Linked DNA regions of Homo sapiens: region 2 is linked to region 1. Evidence: promoter capture Hi-C in human tissues and cell types (Jung and others, 2019). All regions are on one chromosome and are shown on one strand. Each heading gives the region's core, a stretch centred on a gene start or on the middle of the fragment in contact. The rest is flanking DNA. Distances are from core to core; before and after follow the strand shown. Region 1 holds the start of TBX4 (T-box transcription factor 4). Region 2 overlaps BCAS3 (BCAS3 microtubule associated cell migration factor).

Region 1 (5,989 bases), core at 2,658-5,157:
TTCTGACTCAGTTGGTCTGGGTTAGAGCTTGGCATTGGTATTTATTAAGTGCTCCAAAAACCTAATTTTTTTAAAAAATTGTAATTGCTTTTCACTACACTATGGTGCCAGCTCATCCTCCACCAAAAGGTCATCCTCAACCAAAGCCACCCCAGGCTCTAGGGAGCCACCCTACTGTGCTGACTGGCATCCCCAACTTATCCTGTAGCCCCTGCTGTCTCTGAGATTGATTATTTAGGTGATTAATTACTCAGCTTGCAGGTCATTCATTAATGAATTTGCTGTTAGTGATGGGTTAGTCAAGTAGTTGGGTAACTAACAGAATGGTCAGTTGGCCTTTCCTCCTGTTTGTGTGTCTAACACATAGTAAGCATTTGATATTTCTTTGGATGAATGAATCCATAAAATAGAGAAAAAAATGGAGTTAATACAGTATCAAATGAGATGGCAGCTGTGAAACCACTTTGTAAATGGTAAAACACTGTACGATATAACAATAAACATTTACATTAGAAACTACTTTTATTTTTTCTTTATTTTTAAATTTTATTTATTATTATTATTTTTGAGACAGACTCTCACTCTATCATCCAGGCTGGAGTGCAATGGCACTATTTCGGCTCACTGAAACCTCTGCCTCCCAGGTTCAAGTGATTCCCCTGCCTCAGCCTCCAGAGTAGCTGGGACTACAGGCATGCGCCACCATGTCTTGCTAATTTTTGTATTTTTAGTAGAGACAGTGTTTCACCATGTTGGCCAGGCTGGTCTTGAACTCCAGGCCTCAAATGATCCGCCTGCCTAGGCCTCCCAAAGTCCTGGGATTATAGGCATGAGCCACTGCGACCAGCCGAGAAACTACTTTTTAAAATTTAGGGCCAGGACAAAGTCTGTTCCTTCACCATTCACCAAAGAGTTACTGTTTCCACATTTCTGATATAGAGAACTACCATGTTGCTCTGCTGGCTCATAAGCCAGATTTTATTCTCAATTATAGCAACTTTGTCAGCACTTAGTGATAGCATATATGCTTACTCCTTTTTCCTTGATCCTAATGTGTTTTTCTACTTGTGTTTTTATTAGCTAATTCTGGTTATAAACCACCTCAAGCCTTTTGCGGAAAAGAGAAAAGTAGAATAAATTTTTAAAATACTTGGGAGCTAGCCTTTATCAACCATGCATTAATATAGGCAATCCTCACAATAAGCTAGTAGGTTGGCGTAATTATCCCCATTTTATATGAGCATTAATGAACTTGCCCAAGGTCACATAGCTGCAAAATGGTGAGCCAGGAATCAGAGCTAGGTTTCAAAACCAAGGTGAGCCTGCTACCAAACCTGAGCACTTTCCCCCAAGCCAACCCAAATCAGTGTGACCGATGTGTGGCACCGTCAGTTATTTGTTTAGCTAGTTGAGGAGGGTTTTCATATTTTGAACTCCTCAAAGTAGTTTTGGAGAAAAAAAAATTGGTCTTCTCCTCTTCTACACAGGCTCTTTTTCAGCAAATACTATGCAGCATCCATTATAAGCTTTTCTATTATTTTACATACGACTAAGAAGAAAAAACGCTGCTAATTAAGCTATGACACACCGCTAGCTATCAGATGCATCTCAGTTTCAGAGATACCAGAATGTGAAAAATGTGTGTCTTAGAGTCAGTTAAATGAGGTATTCCATTCTAATAATGGGGAATGTGCATACAGAACCGCTCTCATTTACTCACTTGCTGGCTGGTTTGCCCCTTCCTTTTTACTGCCAAAAGCTTACCTGTCCCTTCCATATCTCATTTCTCCATGTCATCATGAACCTGTTGATATTAATTTAGACTGTCTGCCATCAGTCTCCAGAAAGCCTTGCACTTATAGGAAGGTTCCAGTCTAGTTTGTTTGTTTTTGTTTGTTTGTTTTATTAAAGAACTATACGATACGATCTCAGTATGAACTTCCTCCAATGACTGTCAACAAATTCTTTCCAGAGTCTGGCCTAGCTCTAGTCTTCCCATAGTACCTGGTGATTCACTGCCCTCCCTGTTCACCATTCCACACAGTAGTTGGTTGCTTAGTCTGTATACTATTTATTTGCAAGGGATTTCCCTACAGGCTGTTGGAGAGGTCATGGGAGGGGGCTTGCGAGCAGAAGCTGAGGCATGTCATCCAGGTCTCCCTAACACAGGAAACACGACTCCCCAGGCATCTCCTGAAACGCCAGGGCCTTCCCTTTCTCCATTCCAGGAGTCCGCAGGTTTGGGGAAGGATTCTGCTCCTCCACTCCTCTTAGATATTATTTCCCCTCCCTGGTTTGAGACTCCATGAGAGGAATGGTGATAGGGTGGTGGGACCTGGTACTGCAATGGTGATAGGGACTTGAGCAGCGGCCCACTGTTGAGGTGGATTTCAGGCTCCTGACAGCAGCAGCGACTGGCTTTTCTGAGTTGGCGTTTTTGCTTCCACCTTTGAGTGCAGGGTGGTAAAGAAGGCATTGATGCTGGCTTTCCATTTCCTAGCATTAGAACAGGGACAGACCCATCCAGGAAAAGAATTTCCCTGTCCTCTCCCCTTCAAGCTGATTTTGAGGTCAGAATCTGGAAAGGGACAGAGGCTGGTTGAGGACACTGGTGGAGGGAGGGATGCAGCCCATGCTAAGCACTAAGGGACCACTCTGGGGATCCTTATTGATGAGGATTCTGCTGTCTTTGCAGATGGGTGGGCAGGCCTATTTCTGCCCCAGGATTCTGGGCATGTGACAGGCGGGGAGGCTGGGGCACGGGCTGGGGTCCGCATGGGTCCGTCTGCTAGTGGAAAGGCAGCGTCCTGTGGGAGGTACAGACAGAGAGAAACAGAGGTAAGTGGAGACAGAGAGCTCAGAGGCTGGGCAGGGAGGTCTAGGTGCTGAGCGGGACTCCGTTTCTGAGGCGGAAAGAACCGGGTGGCTGGGAGCAGGACGCTCCCCAGTCTCCACTTCCTAGACTAGGGCAGGCATTGGGCTTCCTCTTCAGCTCTCCAGGATCTCAAGGAGCTGCCGCGGAATCCTGGCCCTGGGCCGCAGTTTCCCCAGGAGGCTCTGCCAAGCCTGGCACCTTGCAGCCCGGCCTGGGCTCTGTCAAGGCCCGAGCCGGACTCGGCTCCACTCAGAGGCCGGCCCAGCACTTCCCTGCCGCCGCCGCCCCGCACCCGGCCACCGGGCTTCCTCCCAGTCCTCACCCCTGACCTCCGCGGCCGACTTCGAGGCGCGCCAGGCCGGGTCCAGCGCCCGCGGCCCCCTGGGCCGGGACAAGGAGGGCGGGTGAGCAGAAGGGCCGTGCCCAGGGCCTGGAAGTGCAAGGCCGCGTGGTGGGCATGGTAGGGAAGCGGAGCGTGGGCCTGTGAGGCGCGTGTGCGCCTGCGACCTCGGGACCGGGGCTCCCAAATGAACAGCGCGCACAGCTGGGAGCAGGGCTTGGGGAGCGGGGCTCTGCGGCCGGGGATCCGTAGAAGCCGCTGCCTGGAAGCGGGCGCCGGCAGGGGGTGGCCAGACCCGGTCGTGGAGCGTCCTAGTCTTCGGGCACGGCGGGGCCAGGCGAGCCCTCCTGGTTGTCGAGCCTCGGCTGAGAGCCGGGCTGCTCGCCCTTGCTTCCCGCCTCTCTAATCTAAACCATGCGGGGCTCCCAGCCCCTACCCGGCTCGCGGGGCCCGAGGGCCAAGAGGAGGGCACTGGGCCGCGCGGTGGAGGAGCCGGCGGCTCGCGTGGGGCTCGGGATCTTGGGGACCGCGACGCCGGGGAACCCTGGAGCCCCCCTCCCCGGGGGACAGCGGGCGCAGACTGATTGACAGCGGCGACGTCAGCGCGGAGGGGGGGCGGCCCCAGAGGGAGGGAGGGAGGAGGAGGGAATTGAGGCCCCAAAGTGCAGCCTTGGAGATCAAGGGCCCGCTCCAGAGCCGGGATGTGTCCAGCCCCGAGGGCACGGCAGGCAGCTGGACCCTGACCCAGCGGCGCGGAGTCGGAGCCCCGGCCGTCCCGCGCTCCTCGGACCCGAACCTGCAGGGGACCTCGGGCCGCTGGCGCCTCCGCATGCGGCACCGCAATTAGGGTGAGTGTGGGTTCCAGCCGAGTGGGGACGAGCTGGGCGTGCGGGGCTGGGGCCACAGGGGCTCAGGGTTAGGCTGCGGGGACGGACAGGAGGATGAGCTGGAAAGGGGTGAGTCACGCGACCCGGGGAAGAACTTCAGGGGCGGTCAAAGTTGCAGGAAGGCGGCGCGAAGTGCCTTGGGTCGGGCCGCCGCCTCGGCCCGACACCCAGTAGTTGGGGCACGAGCCCTCCTCTCTGAGTAACGCGATGAATTGGGTCTAGAGATCCAAGAGCATAGAAATATCGACAGCGCCAGCACCCTAAGAACAAGGCCGTGACAGGCGGAGCGGTGGCCTGGAAATTGGTGTTTGCAGAATATGCAAGGCCAAGGAAGAGGGCCCCGGTACTGGAGCGAAAATCCGTGTAGATATGTGAGTGATCAGAACACTAGACTCAGAGCCTTTGATGCAATAGACTAGTCAAAATTAAAGCAAGGAACATTATATATAAATAATGATCGATGATTAAAGATTATTGGAATGTGAACAATTACCAAAGAAAGGGCTAATCGGCATAACTGATATAACACGTGAACTTCCAAATAATACAATCATAGTCACTTTCAGAATCAAGTGAAAATAGTAATCACAATTTTTAAAAGGATTAAAGACAAAGTAATTCTAAATAGAGGAACAATGTAAGGACTGTTTATTAAAACCAATTGCACTAATATAACATATAGTAATAGTGTAACAAATTACCAAACTGTAGGAAACTAGCAAACGAACTGTAGGAGAAAGATGAACAATGAAAATACTATTAAGGGAAATACTATTAGTGGTAGTGATATAATAATATAATGTATTATTGATACTACAGTGAACTATTAAAAGAAATATTAACTAAAATCTTAGGAGCAATAGTAATATAAATAAAGACATATTAACAAGAATTGCTGGAGTAATATGACAATTTATGACCAATGTATTAATAGTCACAAGAACATTATAAATAATGGTTGAGTAATAAGAAGTATTGTACCAATGTGATGAAAAATAATCAGAGTATTAAGAGCTACAACAATATTACAAAGTATGACAAAATAACAAGAAGTAATGATGTGATGAGTAACTAGCGAGTTCAGATCTGTAACATTACAAATAATGACAAAGTAACAAGATACTGTCGGGGTGTGTTGAAGAATAATACCTGGAGTGTTATGAGCAAGCCTAACAAAACAAATTGTGGTTAGATAACAAGAAGTATTATAAGGATGTGAGGGAAATTAACATGAATTTTGAGAACAATTATATAACAAGTTATGGTAAACAAGAAGTTATTGAAACAGCGTGACAAAGTATAATCAAAATGAAGAGCAAGCAACGGAAACGTATTAGGGATACAAAGCAAGAATAAAAAATTACAATAGATTAACGTGACCTATTGTTCACTATGTCACCTCGATATTGGAAATAGTATTATGAATGTGCCAGGCGGCCCTGAAATGATGGAACAGTGACAGGAAAACAACAAATTTAGTAACAGTAAGCTAACGAATCAAAGCAGGGCTTTAACCATACAGTATTAAAGATACAAAGTAGTAATAATCCACGCGATAGGATATTCTCAAAGTTCCCGAACTGATCAAAATACTACTATGGTAATAAGGACAATTAAAATATTTTAAAAAGCACGAAATAGTAACAGTTCCCCTAGTGCAAGAAACATATCCCCAGTAACCTAAAAATGAAAAGAGAAATGCTGTCGTCTTTGGAAAACGAGGCAGCTGAAAGCAACAGACCCCATCGCAAAGGCAGCGGAGGTTGCGGGCCGCACCCGCGGAGGAGTGGATGTGAAGGACGAGAGCGGACCGCTATGCGGTGCTGAGTGCGGGACCCCGCGGTGCTGGCGGCGGCCGAGCGCGCCCAAGCTCGAGGTCCGAGAGGA
Region 2 (6,456 bases), core at 733-3,232, 370 kb before region 1:
TTGGGATTTGTTTTGTGGAGCCAACATTTTCCGAAGATTGAGTTCATACTTTCATTATTGGAAATATAACATTCCACCCTGCAGAAATTCTGATGGTGCCTTGGTTTCCTTTCCTAAGCCCATGTAATGCTGCTTTTAGTGGTCTCTAAGCCAGCCCTACAACATTGCTGGGACTGCAGGCACGCATCACCATGCTGGCTAATTTGTTTTTTTTGTTTGTTTTTTAATGTAGAGACAGGATCTCCCTATGTTGCTTAGGCTGGTCTTGAACTCCTGGGCTCAAGCAATCCTCCTGTGTTGGCCTCCCAAAGTGCTGGGATTACAGGCAAGAGCCACCATGCCCAGTCTCCAACAGCTTCACTGACCATCCCTCCCCTTGCCAGGTGAAGCTGTCTTCATCTCAAGGGCTTTGAAATAAAAGATACTTGGGCAGATGTCAAAATGATGGGATTACAAATGACTTCATTACAAATGCTGTTATGTCTGCCTCAAGTCTGACATCATTTTATGAAGCTAATGACCTATCTCAGGTTACCAATCTGACAGCTTTTCATCGGACAGGTGCCTCAAAAATGTGGAGGCCATTTGTAGTTTCATTTCTTTCTCAAGGAGGGTAGCCTGAAAACTAAAGTCTGGAAAATCAAAAGTAAAGTAAACTGGAAAATCAAGCAGTGTCTAGGTAACATGTATTTATTTCATCACACCAAAAATATTCACAGGAAGTTCCTTGAAGGAAGTTGATTCTTCAGTTCCTGGCATGTGGCGGTCCATCCTTTCTTAATGTTAGGAAGATAAAGTAAACCCCAAATGTGTGTTTTTTCCAAAATCAAAATGTTGTCCAAGGAATGCTGGCAGAGAAACCACTGTCCTTCACTTCAACTTTTCAATTAGAAAAAGGGGTAATGTGTGCTGTCAGTGTGAAAGTATATACAATGTGTTTGTCCGGCACACAACAGGAGAGTGAATAGGAACATCTGGCCATCGCCTCGGTGAAATTGAACAGGCATCTGTTTACCTCTGGGCTCTGTGACACTGATGGTTTTGAGCTTAAAGTACACAGAATGCTTTATCTGTGGCCTAATTTACATTGCTGAATACAACTACTTGAATCAGAAATCACTGTCCTCAATCTGAGCATTTTTCTCCCTGTGATTAGTAGGAATGTGAATATTGTTCCAAAGACCATGATGCTTTTGCCCTTTTGGACTCACACAGGGCTACACTCTGTGAACCTTTTCAGTTATGTTTTGTTAAGAATTAATCACCACAATCAGAGAAATGTGATTAAATATAAAAGAACTCAGGACAAAAATAAGGCATGTGGGAAGTCAATTACATAAAGTATTTGCACAGGCATGAATGTACCATTGACAAGACATTTAAACTAGTTTGTATATTTAGTCTCTCATTCGAGTTGATTATTTGTAAAAAAAAAAAAAAATCATGTAATATATATATTTTCAGGTTTTTCCAAGTGTCTTCTACCCACTTCTTTGACTTTATAATGTTTAATAAAGTATTGGCGGCCGGGCGCAGTGGCTCACGCCTGTAATCCCAGCACTTTGGGAGGCCGAGGCAGGCGGATCACCAGGTCAGGAGACCAAGACCATCCTGGCTAACACGGTGAAACCCCGTCTCTACTAAAAATACAAAAAATTAGCCGGGCGTGGTGGCGGGCGCCTGTAGTCCCAGCTACTGGGGAGGCTGAGGCAGGAGAATGTAGTGAACCCAGGAGGCGGAGCTTGCAGTGAGCGGAGATCACGCCACTGCACTCCAGTCTGGGCAACAGAGCGAGACTCCGTCTCAAAAAAAAAATGAAATAAAATAAATAAAATAAAATATTGGCAACATTCCCTATCCCCCCCATTGAGCGTGAAATTCATAAAGCATTTTGGTATTACTGTTTTGTAGCACATCAAATGCCTGTGTCGATATTTGTGGCAGTTGAGAAAACACACTAATTAATGGTATTTGGAAGACAAAAATCTAGTTTGAGAGAAAATATATAATAATGTTTTCATTTAAAAGTGGATTGGGGTAATATTAGGGCAGTATAATAAATATTATAATATTTTATTGTGGAAATAAAGTGGCTTTGGGCATTAAAATTATTTCAGACCTTTACTTTTCCTTGGATGGTTCAAGAACAACTTCACGTTTGTCATAAGCTTGATCCTCAGTGAAGGAATTGCTTTTAATCTGTGGATTAATAGGTGTAGTATTCAGTGCATGCCCACAACATGGTAAGTACTGTCTAGAATGAATGAAAAGGTAGACCCTACGGAGCTGACACTAGTTATATGAGGCAAGCAACTGGTCCTTTTACTTTCATGTGATTTTTGTCTTGTATATGTGTGTGAGGTGTGCATGTGTGTCTGTGTATGTATATGTACACAAAATGTATTTTTGGCTTATGTTGATGAAAAGCAGTAGAGGGATATTTTGAATGTCTACATCAGCTGTGATTATCATCACCTTTTAATTATGGGTGTCCTATCCCTTTGCCACTTTAACATGGGCTTCTTGAAGAATGTGGGTGTTAAGAGGAAGAATGGGGGATTGTGAAGTCTCTCAAATCAGGATCACAAACCATTTAAATCATCATTGCTACTCCATTCCAGGTTGAAATTGTAACACACACTGGACCCCATAGACGTCTGTGGATGGGTCCACAGTTCCAGTTCAAAACCATCCATCCCTCAGGCCAAACCACAGTTATCTCATCCAGTTCATCTGTGTTGCAGTCTCATGGTCCGAGTGACACGCCACAGCCTCTTTTGGATTTTGATACAGATGATCTTGATCTCAACAGTCTCAGGTAGGAAATGAGAATTAGGGAGTGATTTGAACAAAAGGATTAATATGTTCGTGTGAAATGAGCATCATATGTAATATTTAGGTTTCCCCTTTTGGCACAGTATCATGTTGCAGACTACATGTACTGTTGCACGTAATTCCCTGTCATTACTTGAGATGGTATATAGGGTCTCGTGGGATCACATTACGTGCAATAAATACTTGCTTTTCAGATTATATTCTCCCTAAATCTAATAGTCACTGCACTTTTCAAGCAATTCCACTTTTTGATGCTTTGCTTATATTTCTAACTGCTTGAATCTGATTATGTATTCTTTTCCTGATCTTTCTGAAGTTGGCACCACCTTTCAATTAAATTTCATCTGTGATTTTTATCTAATCCTGTATCTCCCTTCTTTTAGATTATATAAAGTTTTTGGATGGAAAAACGTTGGTATAAATTCAATTATAGTTTATCTTCTATATTTTTATAATACATGTTCTCTCATCCTTATTTGTAGGAATCCTAGGACAGGTGTACAAATTATGCTTTTTATTATTAGCTTTTTTTTTTAATTGCAACTCAGACAGTTTTGACTTGCAGTCTCAAGTTTGCTTAGCAGTTTAATTTGTTATACCAAGACTTGACACATTAGGGTGCAACAGATAATGAAGGACTCAGTCTAATGTAATATAATCTCCCTTTTCTTGTCTTCTCTTTAAAAAAAACTCTATAGTATATCTTGAATTGAATATAAAACAACCCTCTGACCTTTTTCTTGCACACCTTTTAAAAAATAGTGGGAAAAAATGTTCCAGTTACATAGTGGAAATACGTTTTTGTCTTCTTTGTCAGTAACAATAAAAAATTTTTATAACAAGATGAAAATTGTTGCAAAGTTGGATTATGCCTGATGTATCTGTTTAGAAAATATGACACATATTTACTGAGTACCTGCCAGGAGGTGCCAGGAGATAAGCCTAGAGTACGGCCGGCTGCCTACTTGGGTCTGAATTGCAACTCTTCATCTCACTCCCTAATCCTGCTCTCACCCCTATTCTTTGTCATCTCTATTTTATTTTATTTATTTTTTATTTTATTTTTTGAGACGGAGTCTTGCTCTGTCACTCAGGCTGGAGTGCAATGGTGTGATCTCTGCTCACTGCAACCTCTGTCTCCTGGGTTCAAGCAGTTCTCCTGCCTTAGGCTCTTGAGTAGCTGGGATGACAGGCGCCCGCCACCAGACCCAGCTAATTTTTGTATTATTAGTAGAGACGGGGTTTCAACATTTTGGCCAGGCTGGTCTTGAACTCCTTACCTCAAGTGATCCTCCCGCCTTGGCCTCCCAAAATGCTGGGATTACAGGCATGAGTATTTTTTTTTTTTTTTTTTTTTTTTTTTGAGACTGAGTCCCACTCTGTCACCTGGGCTGGAGTGCTGTGGTGCGATCTCAGTTCACTGCAACATCTAGAATGTATTCTAGCCTCCTGTATTCAAGCGATTCTCCTACCTCAACCTCCTGAGTAGCTAGTATTACAGGTATGTGGCACCACGCCTCCCTAGTTTTTGTGTTTTTAGTAGAGATGGAGTTTCACTATGTTGGCCAGGCTGGTCTTGAACTCCTGACCTCAGGTGATCTGCCCGCCTCTGCCTCCCAAAGTGTGGGGACTACAGGCGTGAGCCACTGCACCTGGCCTCATCTCTTTAAATTACTCCACAAACTACCTACTCAAGACAGAATCTAGAGGTTATCCTTGAAATCTCTCCTTTCACAGATGCCACATCTAATTCTTCACCAACTTATGTCATTTCTATTCAAAATACATCTAGAAACCTTCCACTCCTCTCCATTCCTAATGCCAGCACCCTAGCAACATCTCACAGACTCCTAACTGCTGTCCCTTTTTACATTTTTGCTTTCCCCTGACTGATGTATCTTCTTAAAGAATGATTCAGCCAGGCGTGGTGGCTCACGCCTGTAATCCCAGCACTTTGGGAGGCTGAGGAGGGTGGATCATGAGGTCAGGAGTTCGAGACCAGCCTGGCCAACATGATGAAACCCCATCAAAACCCTACCAAAAAAATACAAAAAATACAAAAAATTAGCCGGGCATGGTGGTGCACACCTGTGATCCCAGCTACTCGGGAGGCTGCGGCAGGAGAATTGCTTGAACACAGGAGGCGGAGATTTCAGTGAGCCGAGATCGTGCCACTGCATTCTAGCCTGGGCAACAGAGTGAGACTCCGTCTCAAAACAACAAACAAACCAACACACAAAAAAAGAACGATTCATCAAGAAGAATGTATCTTCTTTTAATACCTTGTTTAGTATTTTTTGTTTACTCTGCTTTGTATTTTGTTTTTTTCTTCTCTGCATTTTTTTTGTTCCAGCATAATTCCTCCAGCTTTCTAAAAATGACATTTTTTGACCAAGATGTCAGGTAATAATGACAGAATACAGTGAGAGTGTCAGACCAATTTTCAGTGATGCTAATTGATTAAATATGGTCTAGATTAGGACCTGAAGCCATGATCAGGGAGTCAATTCTTTGCAGTCCTCAACTTAGTGATTCAGTGTACTCGTGTTTACAACAGTCATTTGGTTATTTAAATCTTAATAATAAAGCGTTTAAAATAAGTAACCAATTTATTCTCTTCACAACTATATAACACATTTAGTTTTTTTGCTAAACCGTGCACAAGACACTGTCTCATTTTTTTTCTAGTGATTGACCAGCTGCTATTTATAAAGCCCTGTGCTGTACTTTTTCTGAGGATGTCTTTGCCCCATTGTTTCGTGGCCTCCTCAGCTTTCTTTGTTACTCTTTTCCTCAGGTATAGTCCTTCTATTAAGATAATTCTAACTCGCTTCTTTTAAAAGCAGATATAGCTACTTTTCAGAATCCTTAAGAATTTTCCTCGCAGACTTTCCCTTTGTTAATAATAATAAATAACTCCCCAAATTTTGTTTAAATCTAAATGACTTTAAATTGTTTATGTTTGATTAGAATATTATCCTGTTTACAGGACACATATAACCTTTAGAAACCTTTATACTGAGCAGCAGGTTTATAAATTTCTGTTAATTGCATTTGTAATTTATATTTTAAACTTTCAGCAGGTAAGCTTGGTTGGGACCTTGGCTAAGACCCTACAGCAGTTTTTATGGGAAATATAGATTTTATTCACATCAATTTTAAGTCCTTTTTAGTACCACCATTTCCCACCCGGCATCCAATTAGAAACCCAACTATTGAGATTCTCCTCATTCTCGTTTATGATCACTCTAGCCCAGCTCCTTGTCTCTCATCTGATTTCTACACGCCTGTGCATGGTGGCCTATGGCCGACCATTGGCTTTACTTTCTCTCTTAAATTGTGAAGTCCTTGTTTAGATTTTTTGGGGCTCACCTGACCCTTGACACCTAGTACACTGTCCTGTACCCCATAGGATACCAATAATAATATGTAGTGCAGTGATAATCTTCCTCCCTGCCGCCTAACCAAAATGGGAAACAGGCAGGCATAGTGTTGACTCTCATCCATAAGGGAATCAGGCAAGCTCCCTACACAGAGCAGGTGTTTAAAAAGAATGGGCAATGAAATATTTGCTAACAGACCTGAGAAACATATAATGTAAAAGATGCTGAGTATGCAAAG

Evidence for each region. The method cuts DNA at HindIII sites, captures the fragments that hold promoters and counts their contacts. A contact is called where the count stands out against the background at its distance.
Region 2: a contact is called between a fragment that was not itself captured here and the fragment with the promoter of TBX4 in region 1, in 1 of the 25 tissues and cell types used here (mesendoderm cells).

What each region holds. Positions count from the first base shown.
Region 1 is chr17:61,448,515-61,454,503 of GRCh38, forward strand. TBX4 (T-box transcription factor 4) reads left to right here and starts at 3,908. Exons shown (of 9, transcript NM_001321120.2): 1 at 3,908-4,063. LOC124904042 (a long non-coding RNA gene) reads right to left here. Exons shown (of 2, transcript XR_007065872.1): 2 at 4,728-5,989. RefSeq lists enhancers at 3,878-4,719, 5,520-5,989. The HindIII fragment of the contact is 13,471 bases long and covers 1-5,989 here.
Region 2 is chr17:61,075,712-61,082,167 of GRCh38, forward strand. BCAS3 (BCAS3 microtubule associated cell migration factor) reads left to right here. Exons shown (of 24, transcript NM_017679.5): 21 at 2,622-2,818. The region is part of intron 2 of BCAS3-AS1 (BCAS3 antisense RNA 1); the gene reads right to left. Among named protein-coding and RNA genes, the nearest start is that of BCAS3-AS1, 57 kb to the right of the region's middle. The HindIII fragment of the contact is 4,126 bases long and covers 1-4,045 here.